2 separate regions of the Homo sapiens genome follow, and region 1 is linked to region 2. Evidence: promoter capture Hi-C in human tissues and cell types (Jung and others, 2019). All regions are on one chromosome and are shown on one strand. Each heading gives the region's core, a stretch centred on a gene start or on the middle of the fragment in contact. The rest is flanking DNA. Distances are from core to core; before and after follow the strand shown.

Region 1 (4,409 bases), core at 303-2,802, 180 kb before region 2:
GCTTTTCAGATGGACTCGTTGAGCCCCAGGCTCAGCTCATCAGCGGTAGCAATGGCTCGCCCTCTAAAACGGAGCAGCGGCTCCCAGCTGAAGGATCACACTGACCTCAGCTCAAGGCAGCTCACCAGTCAGGTGCCTTTCAGTGGCAATTTGTTGACATAGTTGCCCAGTAAAGGCAATATAAGAGAGCGAGTGAGAAGAAAAAAATACAAGGGCAAATGAGGTAGGGGAAGGGAGGTGGTGTTTAAATATTAATCGCCCTTTCCTCTCAAATGTCTCTTTCCTCAAATGATAATGAAATGAGATGCATTTATTTCAAAAGGACTTCCAAATTCCTTGAGATGAGAATAAAAACAAATTACAGCAGAAGCAAAAACGACTCAGAGCTTCTCTTGTCCTCCCATGTTCTGAAATACGGGGCTAGAGGCAAAAATGACCGAATGATCCTATGCACTATCCTCGCATCGTATTTCTGGTGCCAAAGACATGGGAAAACAGCAGAAGGGGCCAGGTGAGCCCTGCACATGTCCAGATGGTATCCGGATGGAGCTGGGATCCTGGCCACAGTGGAGGAAACCGTATTGCTAACAGTTCAGCCTCAGGAGTAGTGAGGATCCTAAAGGTGAGCTAAGAATAAAAGAGACAGCGAGAAGGAGCACAGGTCAGGAAAATATGAGGCCATTAATTCTGAGAAAGAGATCGAGGTCTGTCTGCAAAGGGAGACAGCTGAAGAGAAAAATGTAAAAACACTGAAATAAGTGAAAAGAAAGTTACAGGAGATAGGAAAAAAATTCATAGCTTAATGATGAAAATAAAAGAAAGAAGTTTAGAAATAAGAAAACAAGACATTAGACAGGAACTAGAAAATGAAACAAAAATATAACATAATTGATAAAATCATATATAATATTAAGGTTGGTTAACCTATTTCTACTAAATGAAACTTTGAATTAAGTGAATTGATTGAAGATTCAAGTAAAGCTTTTAGGCCAGGCTGAGGCAGGGCAATAGGGTCTGGAGGCAGGGATCCTAAGGCTATTTCACACTGACTTCCTAGAACTAAATTGAAAGGAAAACCCTAACTTTCCAGCCTAAGTAACAAAAGGACCAGAGGCTACTCCCTTTGCAAACTCACTACCTTTTCTGGTAGGCAGATGGGAAATTGGCTGTCTGCAACAAACCAGACTGACTGCGGGTTGAGTCTTCGTTTGCATCTTTGTTCACTCCGGCCTCTGAATGGTTGCTGTCCACAACCAGTCAGACCGATGGCTGCTGTCCACAACCAGTCAGACTAATGGCCTGCCAAGTCTGTTTGCACAGAGGTATAACTTTGTAACTTCACCCTAGCCTCTGATTGGCTGCGAAAACCAACTCCTGTTTGCACAGGGGTGTGACCTTTGTAACTTCACTTCAGCCTCTGGTTGGCTGCTTTCTGCAACCATTCAGACTGACTGTGGGCTAGCACTTCATTTACATGAGATGGACGTGAAGTGGCCAATGGAAAACTGCTAGCGGGTATTTGGACCCAAGAAGATTCTGCATCTGGACCCTGGAGCTGCTGCTCTGGCCCACTCCCACACTGTGGAGTGTACTTTCATTTTCAATGAATCCCTGCTTTTGTTCTTTTGTTGCTTCATACTTTGCTTTGCTTTGCTGGGCATTTTGTCCAATTCTTTGTTCAAAATGCCAAGAACCTGGACAACTTGCAGTCACAACCCTCGACCAGTGACAAGGCAAGGTGGCTCACACCTGTGATCCCAGCACTGTGGAAGGCTGAGGCGGGAGGACCACCTGTGTCCAGGAGTTCAAGACCACCCTGAGCAATACAGTAAGAACCTGTTTCTACAAAAAAATGTAAAATTAGCCAGGCATGGTGGTGTGTGGCTGTAGTTCCAGCTACCCTGGAGGCTGAGATGGGAGGATGACTTGAGCAGGTGAGGTTGAAGCTGCAGTGAGCTCTGTGATGCTGCCATCACACGGCAGCCTGGGTGACAGAACAAGACTCTGTCTCAACATAAATAAATTCAATTAAATTAAAGCAACCTTTTAAAACCATTTTTAACATTATTAAAATTATTAAAGAATTTAAATTATTGAAGTTATCTTTTCAAAAAACTATTTAAAAAACTGAAACCAAGCCAGCCATGGTGGCTCACACCTGTAATCCCAGCACTTTGTTGGGGCTGGGTCGGGGGAGGGGGTACCGAGGTAGGTGGATCACTTGAGGTCAGGAGTTCAAGACCAGCCTGACCAACATGGTGAAATGCCATCTCTACTAAAAATACACAAACACACACACACAAATAGCCAGGCGTGGTGGCAGGCGCCTGTAATCCCACCTACTAAGGAGGCTGAGGCAGGAGAATCCCTTGAACCCGGGAGGTAGAGCCGAGATGGTGCCACTGCACTCCAGCCTGGGCAACAGAACGAGACTCCGTCTCAAAAAAAGTAAATAAATAAATAAATAAATAAATAAATAAATAAATCCAGCCTGGGCGACAGAGTGAGACTCCGTCTCAAAAATAAATAAATAAATGATAAAATAAAATAAAAAACTGAAACCAATGTAGTAAAATAAAATTAAAATCGTTTTTTAAAGTTTAATAATTCCTTCTTTTGTTAAGTTTTTGGAGTAGAGAAAAAACATATAAACTCGTTTTGCATATAGTAATGGGCTGGTTATCACTGGCTCCTCATAGGCAAAAAGTCCTGATTTGGATCCTTTTTTATTTCCATTGTGGTTTTATTTCCATTGTTCCAAGATCGATTTCAAGCTGCCAATTACAAACATGAAATCACTAAAGGTGGAGTCTGGAAGAAATGACAATAGCATACCATTATATGGTACATCCACCACACATACACTAGACACAAATAACCTCAAAGTATGAGTAAAATATAATAAAGTAATTACGAAGTGGTAAATTGTATTTATTACAATTACCTTTCTTTTTGTCATTGTTAATAAAAGCATTTATTTTGCATTTAATACAGAATAACCTGAAAAAATATGGAACGCTTCACAAATGTGTGTGCCAGCCTGTGTAGGTGCCACGCTCATCTTCTCGATGTTGTTCTGATCTTAGATAAGTGCTGCTGAAGAAAGCACCCTTGTTTTTTAATATAACTGAATTGTCTATATAATTTATTTCTAATATAAACTAGCTTTAACAATAGTTTGCAGAACTCCTGAAATTTAGCCATTAGCTCTTGTGAGCTGGGATAAGTCGGCACGGTCTGGCTCCAGCACACCACTGACGCTGAGAGTCAAAATCACTTCATTCAGACAGCTAAAGAGGCCTTCCTGGGGCCGTCCCTGCACGGGTTCATCTCCTCAACAGCGAGAGTGGCCAGGAGCAACTCACTCAGTATTCTACCATGTACACAAAACAGAAATCAAATACTACTCTTGAAAATAAAATGTTGTCCCTTTGAAAAATAATTTTCTTCCTTTTAAATCGATTTCATGGGATTAAAAAAACGCTAACTCCTCAATTTTGGTAGGCTTTTGAAAGAAAGTGAAAATCAACTGTTCCATATAAAGTATTTAAAATATGCTGAGACATTTGATTTCTTTTTCTTTCTTTCTTTTTTTTTTTCCTTTGAGACAGAGTCTCGCTCTGTCGCCCAGGCTGGAGTGCAGTGGCATAATCTCGGCTCACTGCAACCTCCGCTTCCCAGGTTCAAGCAATTCTCCTGCCTCAGCCTCCCAAGTAGCTGGGATTACAGGTGCCCACCACCATGCCCAGCTAATTTTTTGTGTTTTTAGTAGAGACAGAGTTTCACCATGCTGGCCAGGCTGATCTCAAACTCCTGACTTCAAGTGATCCGCCCGCCTAGGTCTCCCAAAGTGCTGGTATTGCAGGCGTGAGCCACCGCACTCAGTCAACATTCGATTTCTTTTGTCAACGTAGATGTCTTATATTGATAAGAAGTACAAACTAACTCCAAAAGCCTTTATGGTTACAAGTATTAAAAATGTTTTTCTGTACCTGTGCTATATATATAGTAGTGGGCATAGGAGTAAGACTATTTGGAGCAAATGAGCCCCAATAAGGTGGCCCAATCGTGGTGTCATCATTTAATTATGTATAGCATTTGGACCACTTAAAATGTTTGACCCGGGGAAGCTTGGTTCTTGGCAGGCTGGCATTTAGTGGGTGTAGTATCAAGTTCCTGACACAAGGGGGAGCCAGTGCCATTGAGCTAGGCTGTGACTTCAGTTTAAGGGCAGCCTAAGGTCAAAAACACCAAAGTGAAGACCAGATTCAGAATATTTCACACAATTATAAGAGACAAAAAAAAATAGGCAAAACATTTTACCTGCTCTATTAAATAGCTAATATTATGCTAAGGATAAGAGAACATTTAAAGCAATCCAAAAATGTCTAAGGACAAAGCAGGATCTG
Region 2 (4,450 bases), core at 1,951-4,450:
CAGTCTCAGCTCACTGCAACCTCCGCCTCCCAGGTTCAAGTGATTCTCCTGCCTCAGGCTCCTGAGTAGCTGGGATTACAGGCGGCCACCACCACGCCTGGCTATTTTTTGTGTTTTTAGTAGAGATGGGGTTTCAACATGTTGGCCAGGCTGGTCTCGAACTCCTGACCTCAGGTGATCTGCCCACCTCAGCCTCCCAAAGTGCTGGGATTACAGGTGTGAGCCACCACTCCCGATCTTGTTTTTTGTTTTGTTTTGTTTTTTTTGGGGGGCGGGGGGGAATGAGAATATTTAACGTAAGATCTTAACGGGTTTTTTTCTTTTTCTTTCTTTTTTCTTTTTTTTTTTTTTTGAGACAGGGTCTCCCTCTGTGGTCCAGGTTAGAGTGCAGTGGTACAATCACGGCTCACTGCAGCCTTGACTGCCGGGGGTCAAGTGATCCTGCTACCTCAGCCCCTTGAGTAGCTCGGACTACAGGCGTACCACCACAGCCACCTAATTTTAATTTTTTGTGGAGATGGAGTCTCACTGTGTTCCTCAGGCTGGTTTCGAACTCCTGGCCTCAAGCCATCTTCCCATCTCGGCCTCTCGAAGTGCTGGGATTACAGACATGAGCCGCTGGGCCTGGCCAGCAAATTTTTAAGTGCAGGATACTTTGTTAACTGTAGATCTCTGGAACTGCCTCATCGTTATGACTATAAAATGTTTTTGAGAAAGTATTGAAAAAATATTTGCTGAATAAATTGTGTGACAAAGTATAGCATTTCCTTTGCTTAAACCTCAAAAATGTAAGCTAGACATGCAGAGCACCAAAACTTTGTAGTTACCTCTCACAGATCAATTATTCATAGGTCATTCTTGAATCATTTTTTGTTATTGAGAATTAACTTGTCTCCTCCGGCACGCGGTATTCTTGGTAGCCTCTAGGATTTGACACAGGGGGAATTTAAATTGTCTTAGAGGTCCTTCAGAGATTTACAGGAAGTGACCTGCACTTTAACAGGTCTCTGTAGAGCAGGACTATCATGATAGCATTAAAAATATAAGAAGCAAAAATGATCAATAAGATGTCACCATTTGTACTTTGAAGTGGTAACATAAGACTATGGAATGGCATATTTCCTCTGTTTGTGAAAAGGATAGTATGATGATGGTTCTTTGAGCAGAAATTGTTTTTCTTTCAAATGTTGTCTAAGACAGCACAATGTAATAGAAAGCCCATTGGTGTGGGGGGTGAGGGTCCCAGCTTCCTGGGCAGTAAAATGAACAGGACTGCAGATCGATCTCCAGGCCCCATCCAGCTCTAAAGTTCTCCAAAACTTTTGGAGATAAAGCCATAGAACTTTCTTGTGAGCATCAAAAGTTGTATTTCATGTTTATTTTTGCAACTGACTTAATGTTCCAAGAGTGACTGTTACAGATCTACTATATGTAGATATACAATCTTTGTTTTCATAGTTTAGTGTTTTCCAGTAAATGAAATTTGTTTTCATATAACTAATATTTAAAGGTGTAAATAATATCTAGGACACATAAATTTAAGGAACCATCATAATTGTATTTAACTCTGATTCATTAAGGGATTAGTTATCTAGTTTGTGAACATGTAAACCCCCTGTAGCTCTCTTCCCATTTCTGAACGAAGACAAAATTTCAAATTCCAGTTTGTGGCTTATTCATAACCTTCAAAATTATAACCAAAGGCTAAAATGAGTTTCTGGCACTGTTTGGAAGTTTCTATTTTGGGGGCTATCCTCACCACTTAACTTGAACTGGGGATTATCAGTAGTACTGTACATAGTCCATTAATTTCAAGTCAAATCATTTCACAAGTGTTAATATTTCACGTATACATGACTGCAAGGTATGGTAGAATGCTTCATAAAAGCTACCGAAAATAAACTTCAAAAATAAAATGTATCAATTAGTTAAATCATATTAGCCTATGGGAGAAATTTCAATGTGTTTACTTCCAAATTTCAAATTAATAATGGGGCAATATTATTGTGCCACCTAGAGCACCAAACAGTGGGTATAAACCATCTCCTTAGTCAGATGGAACACTGGCTGGACACTGCAGATTATCTAGGGTTTAAAATGTTAACTTCTATCACGAATCTAAATTCTGACTTCCCTATCTAAAACTTCGAGACATCACATCTTTTCTTTAAAGAGAAAAAGTAAACTTCTAACATATAAAATAACGGATTTCAAGAGCGATAGTCCATTTTTCTTTTTACAAAATCACAGCCCTTGATTTTTCGTAAACTTTAAGTTTCAGAATAATTTGGTCAAGAGTATTTCTACAGGAATAGGAAGAGAATCAAGTGGGCCTATAATCAAAGACCTAGTTGGGTCTCACCCTCACGGTTAGCTACTGGGACTTCGTAGCTGATGACCAGGTCCTAAAGTGGACAGAACAAGTGTTACTGGAGGTCCGTCTTTGTGGTAGCTACAGAAAACTTGGAAATGCAATTCTGAGGTTTATTCAGGGTTATTAAGAGCATGAGAATAGCTGCCCTGCAAAGGCAGGTACACTAAGGTTTGCAGTATGGAGTAGTAAGCAAAGCCTCTACTTCCCAGGCCCCGCACCCGGGGTGTGGAACAGACAAAAGAACGGTTCTGCCCTTGCCCTTCTCGAACTTAAAATCCAATTCGCAAGGCAGGACTTACACAAATTAAACCAAATACGGTATTATGAGGAAAAGAGCCGCTGCGTGTAACAGTTGCCAATGTATGCTATACCAGTCAAAACTGAAATACGATTTGAAGGAGTTTTAAACGAAGAGCTGGAGAAACACATAAGAAGGCAGATCTAAGATGGAAGAAAAGGCGGATTCGGGTTGAAACGCCAAGTTGAGGACTGAAGAAAGCATTTGGATAAAGCAGCCTCCAAGCTGGGAAGGAGAAAAGCCAAACGAGTATAGCCACCAAAGACCCAGAAAGGCCAATATATCATGCAGTGAGTCGGTTGAACTGAAAGGCGGTTTCCTTTTCCTCCATTTGCTCAGTCCCAATTGGAAGCGCACTGCGCGGCCTCCACCGCGCTCTCGGCCCGGGTTCGGCGTGGGGGCGGGGAGGTAAGTACGGTAATGGGCGGGGCCGAGCGCGGGCGCGCTCCGGCTTTCCTCCTGCGCAGTGCTCCCGTCAGCGCAGGGGGCGGGGCGCCTATATTACGTGCGCGGCGCCGCTCCTGCGAGAGGACGTTGCGTGCTCGCTCGCGCCAGGCGAGTCTCCGCGTCTCCCTCGCGAACTCGGTGAAAGGAATTGGCGCCGTTCGACACCAGGCGGATCCGCTCTGCAGCACGAACCCATCTCCAGCCGCAGCCGCAGCCGCCGCCCGGGCCGAGGAGCAGCCGCAGCAGCCGCCACCAGTGGCCGAGTGAGCGGAGCCGAGTTTGAGGCAGCGCCTAGCGGTGAATCGGGGCCCTCACCATGAGTTCCTCGCCTGTTAATGTAAAAAAGCTGAAGGTGTCGGAGCTGAAAGAGGAGCTCAAGAAGCGACGCCTTTCTGACAAGGGTCTCAAGGCCGAGCTCATGGAGCGACTCCAGGCTGCGCTGGACGACGAGGAGGCCGGGGGCCGCCCCGCCATGGAGCCCGGGAACGGCAGCCTAGACCTGGGCGGGGATTCCGCTGGGCGCTCGGGAGCAGGCCTCGAGCAGGAGGCCGCGGCCGGCGGCGATGAAGAGGAGGAGGAAGAGGAAGAGGAGGAGGAAGGAATCTCCGCTCTGGACGGCGACCAGATGGAGCTAGGAGAGGAGAACGGGGCCGCGGGGGCGGCCGACTCGGGCCCGATGGAGGAGGAGGAGGCCGCCTCGGAAGACGAGAACGGCGACGATCAGGGTTTCCAGGAAGGGGAAGATGAGCTCGGGGACGAAGAGGAAGGCGCGGGCGACGAGAACGGGCACGGGGAGCAGCAGCCTCAACCGCCGGCGACGCAGCAGCAACAGCCCCAACAGCAGCGCGGGGCCGCCAAGGAGGCCGCGGGGAAGAGCAGCGGCCCCACCTCGCTGTTCGCGGTGACGGTGGCGCCGCCCGGGGCGAGGCAGGGCCAGCAGCAGGCGGGAGGTAAGAAGAAGGCGGAAGGCGGCGGAGGCGGCGGTCGCCCCGGGGCTCCGGCGGCGGGTGAGTGCTGCGTTGTACGTTGCGCGCGGCGGGAGGCCCGCGCGGGGTGGGGACCGTGCCCCAGGCCTGCCGGAGCCCCGCAGGGGGAGGGAGCCCCGGGCGGGAGGGCGCCGCGGTGAGGGTGGGGGAGGGGGCGCGGGGAATCCCAGATTAGCCGAGAGGCCTCGGGCTCGGGGCGTGTGTGTGCGCGCGCGCGTGTGTGTGTGTGTGTGTGTGTGTGTCGGCGGTGGCAGCGCCTCCATTATGTGGCTCGAGAGCCGGGGGGAGCTGCAGCTGCCGCTGTAGGGGGAGGAGCCGCGGGCGGGCGGCGGGAGGGAGCCCGGT

Evidence for each region. Contacts are between HindIII fragments. The study calls those that stand out against the background at their distance.
Region 1: a contact is called between a fragment that was not itself captured here and the fragment with the promoter of HNRNPU in region 2, in 1 of the 25 tissues and cell types used here (heart left ventricle).

What each region holds. Positions count from the first base shown.
Region 1 is chr1:245,042,628-245,047,036 of GRCh38, reverse strand. All of the region lies in intron 3 of DRC8 (dynein regulatory complex subunit 8), which reads right to left. It also overlaps the pseudogene RNU6-999P. Among named protein-coding and RNA genes, the nearest start is that of EFCAB2-AS1, 74 kb to the right of the region's middle. RefSeq lists enhancers at 1-6, 7-507. The HindIII fragment of the contact is 6,532 bases long and covers 1-4,409 here.
Region 2 is chr1:244,863,293-244,867,742 of GRCh38, reverse strand. It overlaps HNRNPU (heterogeneous nuclear ribonucleoprotein U), which reads left to right and starts at 3,200. Exons shown (of 14, transcript NM_031844.3): 1 at 3,200-4,126. The coding sequence starts at 3,436. It overlaps LOC124904588 (UPF0764 protein C16orf89-like), which reads left to right. Exons shown (of 4, transcript XM_047439568.1): 3 at 3,012-3,080; 4 at 3,157-3,261. The coding sequence ends at 3,261. RefSeq lists enhancers at 2,771-2,830, 2,164-2,994, 2,995-3,826 and silencers at 3,051-3,150, 4,131-4,450. The HindIII fragment of the contact is 13,439 bases long and covers 1-4,450 here.